Regions from separate parts of the Homo sapiens genome. Here region 2 is linked to region 1. Evidence: promoter capture Hi-C in 16 types of primary human blood cells and fetal thymus (Javierre and others, 2016). All regions are on one chromosome and are shown on one strand. The core of a region is centred on a gene start or on the middle of the fragment in contact, and the rest is flanking DNA. Distances in the headings are between cores, read along the strand shown. Region 1 holds the start of PTPRG (protein tyrosine phosphatase receptor type G). Region 2 overlaps FHIT (fragile histidine triad diadenosine triphosphatase).

Region 1 (3,521 bases), core at 626-3,125:
GAGAGGGAGGCAGCTGGCCTCTGCCCTCCCCAGGGGAGAGAGGAGGGGGAACTGCCAGCTGAGAGCTGGAAGTGGAGGGTCGCCGAGCCGCACACCGTTACGTGCGGTGATTTATTCTTATCAACGGCCAGTATTGTTCCTGTCTTAACCTGGCCAGAAAGGAGCGAGACTGGGTCTGCCAGCCGCGAACAGCCTGCAAAAGGGCAAAGATGAAGGTAGGCAGGGCGCGCGAGACAGGAAAAAAATCAGCCCCGGCGCGAACAGCAACCCGGCCGCCGAAACCGCCCCGGCCGCCGAAACCGCCCCCGCCCCCTCCCCGCGTCCAGACCCAGGCAATCCAATCGAGCAGAGCAGCGGAGGGAAAGGGCCACGGGCCGGGGCTAGGGGAGACACGGATCTCTCCGAAACCGCCTGCGCCCTGCCGTCTCACTGCGCCCAAGGAGGCTGCCTCACGCCGGCACCGAAGTGCTGCCCGCGCCCCAGCCCCCAGAGAGAGGGAGGACGCCCCCGACCCAGAACGCAGGCTGCTCCCCACACATCCTCAGTCCTCCGCAGCCAGCCTCCGACTTCCATTCCCCGAAACCTAGCCCTCCCAAAGGGATGGAGAACAGCAAAGCAAACCCCCACCTTCTGAGTTCCTTCAATACCCGCCAGAGCGAGGGGGCTCATCCCGGGCCCCCCAAACCCACAGAAGCATCCTTTCCATGGCCTCAGTCTCCCCAACCGCCCCACAACTCGAGTTCTCCCGATCGGCGACGAGTCAGCAAAGCAAGTCCCCCTTTCTCCCGATTCCAGCTCCCCAGGACCCCCAAAAGGGAGCGGGAGCAGACCCCCGCGTCCCCCAGCCCCCTCCCCGGCCAGCCCCTGCCTCCACCTTCCTCGACCACTAGCCTGCCTCCCTAAACATCATCCAAGCCAGCGGAGCAATCCTTTTCTCCTATCCGGGCGCCGGGCCACCCTCCACCCTCTCCAGGGTCTCCCGGACGGGCGCCGGAGCTCCGCGCCCAGGCGACAACTCCGCATCCCCAACGCGCGCCGGCCGGGGCCGCATCCCCTCGGCGGCCGGCACTCACCGGGGAAGCACACGACATAATGGAGCACGGAACTGGTGATTTTCAGGAACAAAATCCACCAACACGGTTCCAGTAACCTCCGCATGTCCGAAAACGCACATCGAAAAGAGGAAAGCAGGGAGGTAAACTTGTTGAATAAGTTCTTGCCTCCGTGCGAGCCTCCGCTAAGCCGGGGCGCTTCCCCGGCTCGCCCGCTCCACGGGCCCCCCGCGCTCGGCGGCCCGAGTCCCCTTGGAATCCGGGAAGCCGCCGAGCGCCCCCCGGAAAATCTCAAAAAGTGACCGGGAACGCAGAGCCACGCTGGGGACGATCCTCTCGGCGGAGAAAGGCTGCTTTCCGTTTAAAAAGGAGAGAGCCGATCGGGCAGGGCGCGGAGTCGGCGGCCGGCGGCGATGCCCCGGGCCTGGGGCAGGCAGGGACCGCGGGCGGCGGCGGCGAGCAGCCGAGGATCCCCAACTTGAGTCGGCAGCGCAGCACAGCCCGAGAGCCGGCGGGCGGCGGCGGGGCTGAGCGCGGCGCGGCGTCTCCGGGCTTCAGGCAGGCAGCTCCTTCCAGGGCCCCGGGAAGGAAGGAGGCATGTTTGCGAGAGGGGAAGGGGAGGGGAGAGGCAGGGGGAGCGGAGAGCCCCCCAAAATAGAAACGGCCGGAGGAAACGGAGGAAAACACAAAGGATCTCAGAGGGGCGCTGGGGCGAGGGCGCCTTCAGTCCATGCTCCTGAAAGTTGTGGCTCCGGCGCAGGCTGGGAAGGAACGAAGAGCGCGGGGCTGGAAACTGGCCATGCCTCCATACAGGAAGTAACATGTGAGCATGGATCCTGGCAGAGACTTTAAAGCCGGCGAGCGAAGGAGCGAGCGAACAGGGGGCGCGCGGTGGCGGCGGGGGCGCGCAGCCCGGGCCAGCTGGCGGCGGGCGCGCGCTCTCCGCGTTCTTAAAGCAGCCGCGCTTGGCTCCCGCCTTGCGCTGGGTCCCTCGGCTCTGCTCTCTCCGCGCGGCCTCTACTGGGACAGTTTGGGGACTGGGGGCGATTGTAGCCCGTGCGCGGAGAGAGGAGGGAGGCTGCCTTCTGGGGCCGGCTTGTTTTTTGCTGGATTCCCGTTGTTCGAGCTCTTAAAAGACGCCGCACGGTGCTCGGGTTTGGCGAGATCCTCCGCGCAGCTCGCGGATCCCGGACTTGAGGGGCCCCTCGCCCTGGCGAGGGGAAAGGGGGAGGGCGGACAGCTGCCTTTTTAAAGCGATGGGGTTTTCTGTTCGGCTTCACTGCCCTGGCATTTGCAGCGGTGAGGCTCACCGTCTGCGGCTCCTGTTCGCGCCTCCAACACAGCGCATTCCCCCGCCGGGAAACAAAGCCGAGCGGCCTTTGCACTCCGGCTACATTGAGATTTAATTTTTTTTTTTTTTCTTTTTCGGGCTTTCATTGGCCCAGTCCAAGGCTGGGGAAAGTGGGGGAGGGGAGGAATGTCGATCCCAGGATTGCGAAATCTAGCCCTTCCGAGCCCCGCATCCCCTTTCCCGGCGCCACGATGGATCGGTGGCGGAGTTTCCCCAACTCGCAGCTTCTCTGGAGAAGGTTCCCGCACCCCGGTTTGGCCGCGGGGAGGGCGCAGGAAGTGCGCCTCTTACACCCTGCAGGGTGAAAGCAGCGCCGCGGGGCCGGACTGATTTCCTGGCAGCTACCCGGGGAGCGGCTGCTTCTTTAGCAATCGGGGAGAGGCGTCCGGGGGAAATGGGAGGACTAGGCTTATCTGTAATGAGTTTTGTCCCTTGGCTCTCGGTAAGAAGATCTTTATCGCTTAGACTTCTAAGCGCCCTATTTTACATTCTTAACGCTGGGGCTAAAAGTGGGGGAGGCGGGCTTTCGAGTAAATGTGTAACTGAGCCAAGGTAATTAGCCGTTTGACATTTTTTGCCTAATTTTTCTGCCTGTGTTTCAAAGCGATCTTGACGTGGGATTGTTTTGTTTTGTTTTGAGACGGAGTCTCGCTCCGTCGCCCAGGCTGGAGTACAGTGGCTCGATTTCGGCTCACTACAACCTTCGCCTCCCGGGTTCGGGCGATTCTCCTGCCTCAGCCTCCCGAGTAGCTGGGACTACAGGCGCCCGCCACCACGCCCGGCTGATTATTTTTTTGGTGGTTTTTTTTGTTTGTTTTTTGTTTTATTTTGGTTTTTTTTGTAGAGGCGGGGTTTCACCGTTTTGGCAAGGCTGGTCTCGAACTCCTGACCTTGTGATCCGCCTGCCTCAGCCTCCCAAAGTGCTGAGATTACAGGCGTGAGCCACCGCGCATGGTTCTTGTGTTTTAAACGTGTCCCTGCTGTTTCATCCCAACACGGCAGGGTCCTCCACCCACCCAAACATCCCAACCGGATGCTAGGTTTTCAAATAAAGTACAGATGGTCGGAGATCCTCCCGTTCGATGTGATTAAGGAAGCATTTTCACACCCACACTTCC
Region 2 (3,807 bases), core at 652-3,151, 960 kb after region 1:
ATGGACATTACAGTGTACACCCCTGAGGGCTCCATCAGAAAGAGGCAGAGTGCTCCAGATGGAGCTGCTGCTTCTCTGGAATGGGAGAAGTACCTGCCCTTAATCCTCACTCATTGAGAGAAGATATAAGGCAAGTGGGAGCAGGGAGGAGAAGACTTGAGTTTCAGCAAGTAAGGGGCTTGAGTATTAGGTAAGAAGTGCCAAAGGGAATAGACACTATTCTCCATTCATCCTTTTTATTTCCCCTCTGATTTTCACAGCAAGCCAAGTTTCTGGCCTACTTCTCAAGAATATGAATATATATACATATATGTTTATATGTGTGTATATATGTATATGTGTGTATATATGTATATGTATGTATTGCAGACAAAAGTTTTCCTAAATTAGTGAAATTAGTACAAAATGAAAACCTTGTTAGGATGTCAGAGAAGAGGGAATAATTGAAGGGAGAAATGACTTGGAATTGTTTGCAAATGTTGAAGACACATCTATCACGCATGTGGTGTGGGAAATTGTGATACTAGAAACGTGAACTCAGTACACAATGAATGTTCAACACCTCTGCTACCTCAATCAGAAAGAATCTGTCTCACCCTGATGAGTTGCTCTGAAAATAACCACCAATTACCCCAACTTCAGTAGGGAAGATAATATACTTTTAATTAGTGGCAGACTAGATAGAAATATAAATCCTTATCATCCTAAAAAAGAATTCTACCATTTGCCAACCCTTGCAAGTAATAAACATGAAAGTGCCCTCTTCGAAAGAGGCCCACCGAGGAAGTGACTGTTTAGTTCCCTGAGACCATCTGAAAATGATTAATCTGCTCATCGGCAATTCAAAGCTTCTATTTCTGTGGTGTCTGAAAATTTATATTATTCTAGAAGATTTATAAAAACCCTGGTGGTTTTCAGCTGGGAGAAGGGCTTTAGTGGTGTGGTTATCAATGATTATTTGCCCTTCCTTGGATACTATAGTGACTGCCATATGGAAGAGGGACTAAAATTTATTCTTTCTAATTCCTGATGACAGACACTAGTAATAGAGAACCCGGCTTTAGCTTGAATTAACAACTTTTGAAACAAATATAGAGGTCCAGCAATGGAATGAGCAGCCTCTCAATGTAGTAATATTCCCATTAATGGAAGGATTCAAGCAGAATCAGAGTTCCAGTGGAAGCAGGTAACAGAGACTGAGGTTAATATAAGTAGAAAAGGAATTTGTTACAAATAGAAGGATATCGGGGAGTTAACAGAATCAAGATGCGGGCAGGAGGGACTAGGCTTAGAAACAGGAAAGTATCAAGATGGAGTCTACTTGGCTATTAAGAAGCCATTACAGCAATGAGTGAGTGAGTGGCATGTCACTCTTCTTAGGATTCAGAGCCCTGGAAGAGAAGGTCCAATTAACTGAGCTTAGGACACATGCTCATCCTTTTTCCATTACAGCAGAAAATATACCAGAAGTCTCCAGGACCTCAAATTCTGGAGTGGAATGAAAAGGCACCCAATTCACTATCCTAATGGTGGCTTATAATAGGAGAAAAGTCCCTAAAAGTGAATCAAGATGCTATCACAGGCTGGGCTCGGTGACTCACGCCTGTAATCCCAGCACTTTGGGAGGCTGAGGCGGGCAGATTGCCTGAACTCAGGAGTTTGAGACCAGCCTGGGTAACATGGTGAAACCCCATCTCTACTAAAACACAAAAAATTACCTGGGCATGGCAGTGGGCATCTGTAGTCCCAGCTACTTGGGAGGCTGAGGCATGAGAATCACTTGAATCCGGGAGGCAGAGGTTGCAGTGAGCTAAGATTGCGTCACTGCACTCCAGCCTGGGTGACAGAACGAGACTCCATCTCAAAAAAAAAAAAAATGCTATTACAATGAGGGAATAGGGACTGAGGAACCAAAACTGAACAAGTGATGTTTGCTATAGTAAACATCCATTAGGAATATTGTAGAGGAGGATTCTTTGTTGGGTAGGAAGTTAGGGAGAAAGAGTTGGTCCCTCTGGCTCTAGCACACTCTGGGGCAAGAAGAATGTCATCCTTGAGAGATTAGGAATTTAGCATCCTTAAAAGTAGTCAGGCAGACTTGGGCGAGATAACATCCCCTGGTTTCTATAATTGTGTCTATGATCAGCTTCTCTTTGAAGGTTTTCATCTGTGACAGAGCAGTCAGATACTATAGTGTTTTTATATACTATTTACAGATACATATAGGACATTCACATGTTCAAAGTTTGAGAATTCCTTATAACTTTATCTTTCCTCCTCTCCCATCCCCTGTGATGGTCAGTTTCTAAACCCTACTTCAGGTATCCTTCTCAAAACTCTCATAGGCAAGAACCAGGTGCCCCATTAGCTGTGTTCCCACAGCACCTCCTGTCCGTACCTCTAGCAGAAAATAAAGCAAAATAGTATATGATGTTAGTTGTTTCCATTACTGGATTGAGAAGAACTCCTGGATGCAAGGACCTTGTGTTTAATTGCTGTAGTTTTAGCCTGCAGCACACAGACCAAGGAGATAAACAAATGAATGAAAAGACATAGGAAGAAATGGAATGAATACATTGAAATATAAATAAATGGTAGAGGTCTTTCAGGGTTCTTTTCTAAACTGGTGCCTTCTGAAACTGACTTCTCAAGTATGTCCTAATCCGTACACTTCTTTGTCCTAAGCGGAGTGAATATTTGATCTCTTGGTATCTGTCAGGTGGAACCTTTCTCTGGAAAGCTAAAAGCATTTTACTCTATTGATGTGTTCTCACCAGAGCTGAGCCATGAGTAGTTAAGTAGGCATTTGTTTCTATTATGACTGCAAATAGTATGATTTCAAATCACTTTTATTGCAGTGATTTGAAGGGATTACACCTTTAATTTGCAAAGCAGTACCCTAGAACTGAACCAAACCAAAGCTGTGGCTATACTAAGTTATTGCCTAAGCTTTCAGTTCATGGACATTAGTATTGGGGAAAATCAACTGCATCTCTCTCTCTCTCTCTCTGTGTGTGTGTGTTTGAGTATAGAATCCTCAACTTAGTTGTGAACAAAGGTACATACTTAAGCATAGAAATCCTAATTTTAAAAAATGTGAATGGTTTAGACATGAGAGAAATCACAATCACAGAGAGGGGAGCCTGAATGAAGTCAGAAAGCTCTTGTGTTAAAATGGACCTTGGGCAGGTTACTGATCCCTTCAATGCTGCTCCTCCCTGTCCATTGTGAAATCTGTGAAATGGGGATGATGATAACAGAATGGAATCTATAGGGTTGTTTTGAGGATTAAATGAACTTGCTTTCTCTCAGTTTGCCCACTATTCTGAAGAGATCCAAGATTCCTGGGCAATAGTAAGTGAGAGGGAAAATGAGCAGAGATCTTTTTCTTCCTGTGGCTGATCACTTAGGACACCAAGAGTGGGAACCTCGGTTTTTTTCCCATTTCATGCTCCTTCCTGCATAGAAGGGGAGCTGATGAGTGGAATAGAGCTATAAGAAATGACATAATTTGTTATCTGCAGTGACCTGGTCAGAGCTGGAAGCAGAAGCAACACTCAGAATAGCAATATTCTTGAGTATGTTATTTCAGCCCAACCCTTTCATACTTAAAACCTTTCCTTTTGGGATTTTATCTGCGGCAAAAATGCATGTCTGGCTCTTCCTAGATCTTATCCCAAGATGGAGGTGAGCTCTGTGGGTGGCCCCAACTCTAATTACTGATTTCTTTGTTAGCATATGATTTGATCTCATTATAATGGTTGAAATCCCATTTCCACGACAACCAGAAGCTGACCAAGGCCTTTA

Evidence for each region. Contacts are between HindIII fragments. The CHiCAGO score rates a contact against its expected background, and 5 or more counts as called.
Region 2: a fragment that was not itself captured here is called in contact with the fragment with the promoter of PTPRG in region 1 in 1 of 17 cell types (neutrophils); the score reaches 5.2 in neutrophils.

What each region holds. Positions count from the first base shown.
Region 1 is chr3:61,559,925-61,563,445 of GRCh38, reverse strand. PTPRG (protein tyrosine phosphatase receptor type G) reads right to left here and starts at 1,875. Exons shown (of 30, transcript NM_002841.4): 1 at 1,074-1,875. The coding sequence starts at 1,158. RefSeq lists an enhancer at 3,098-3,521. The HindIII fragment of the contact is 7,216 bases long and covers 1-3,521 here.
Region 2 is chr3:60,604,315-60,608,121 of GRCh38, reverse strand. All of the region lies in intron 4 of FHIT (fragile histidine triad diadenosine triphosphatase), which reads left to right. Among named protein-coding and RNA genes, the nearest start is that of MIR548BB, 12 kb to the left of the region's middle. The HindIII fragment of the contact is 2,101 bases long and covers 851-2,951 here.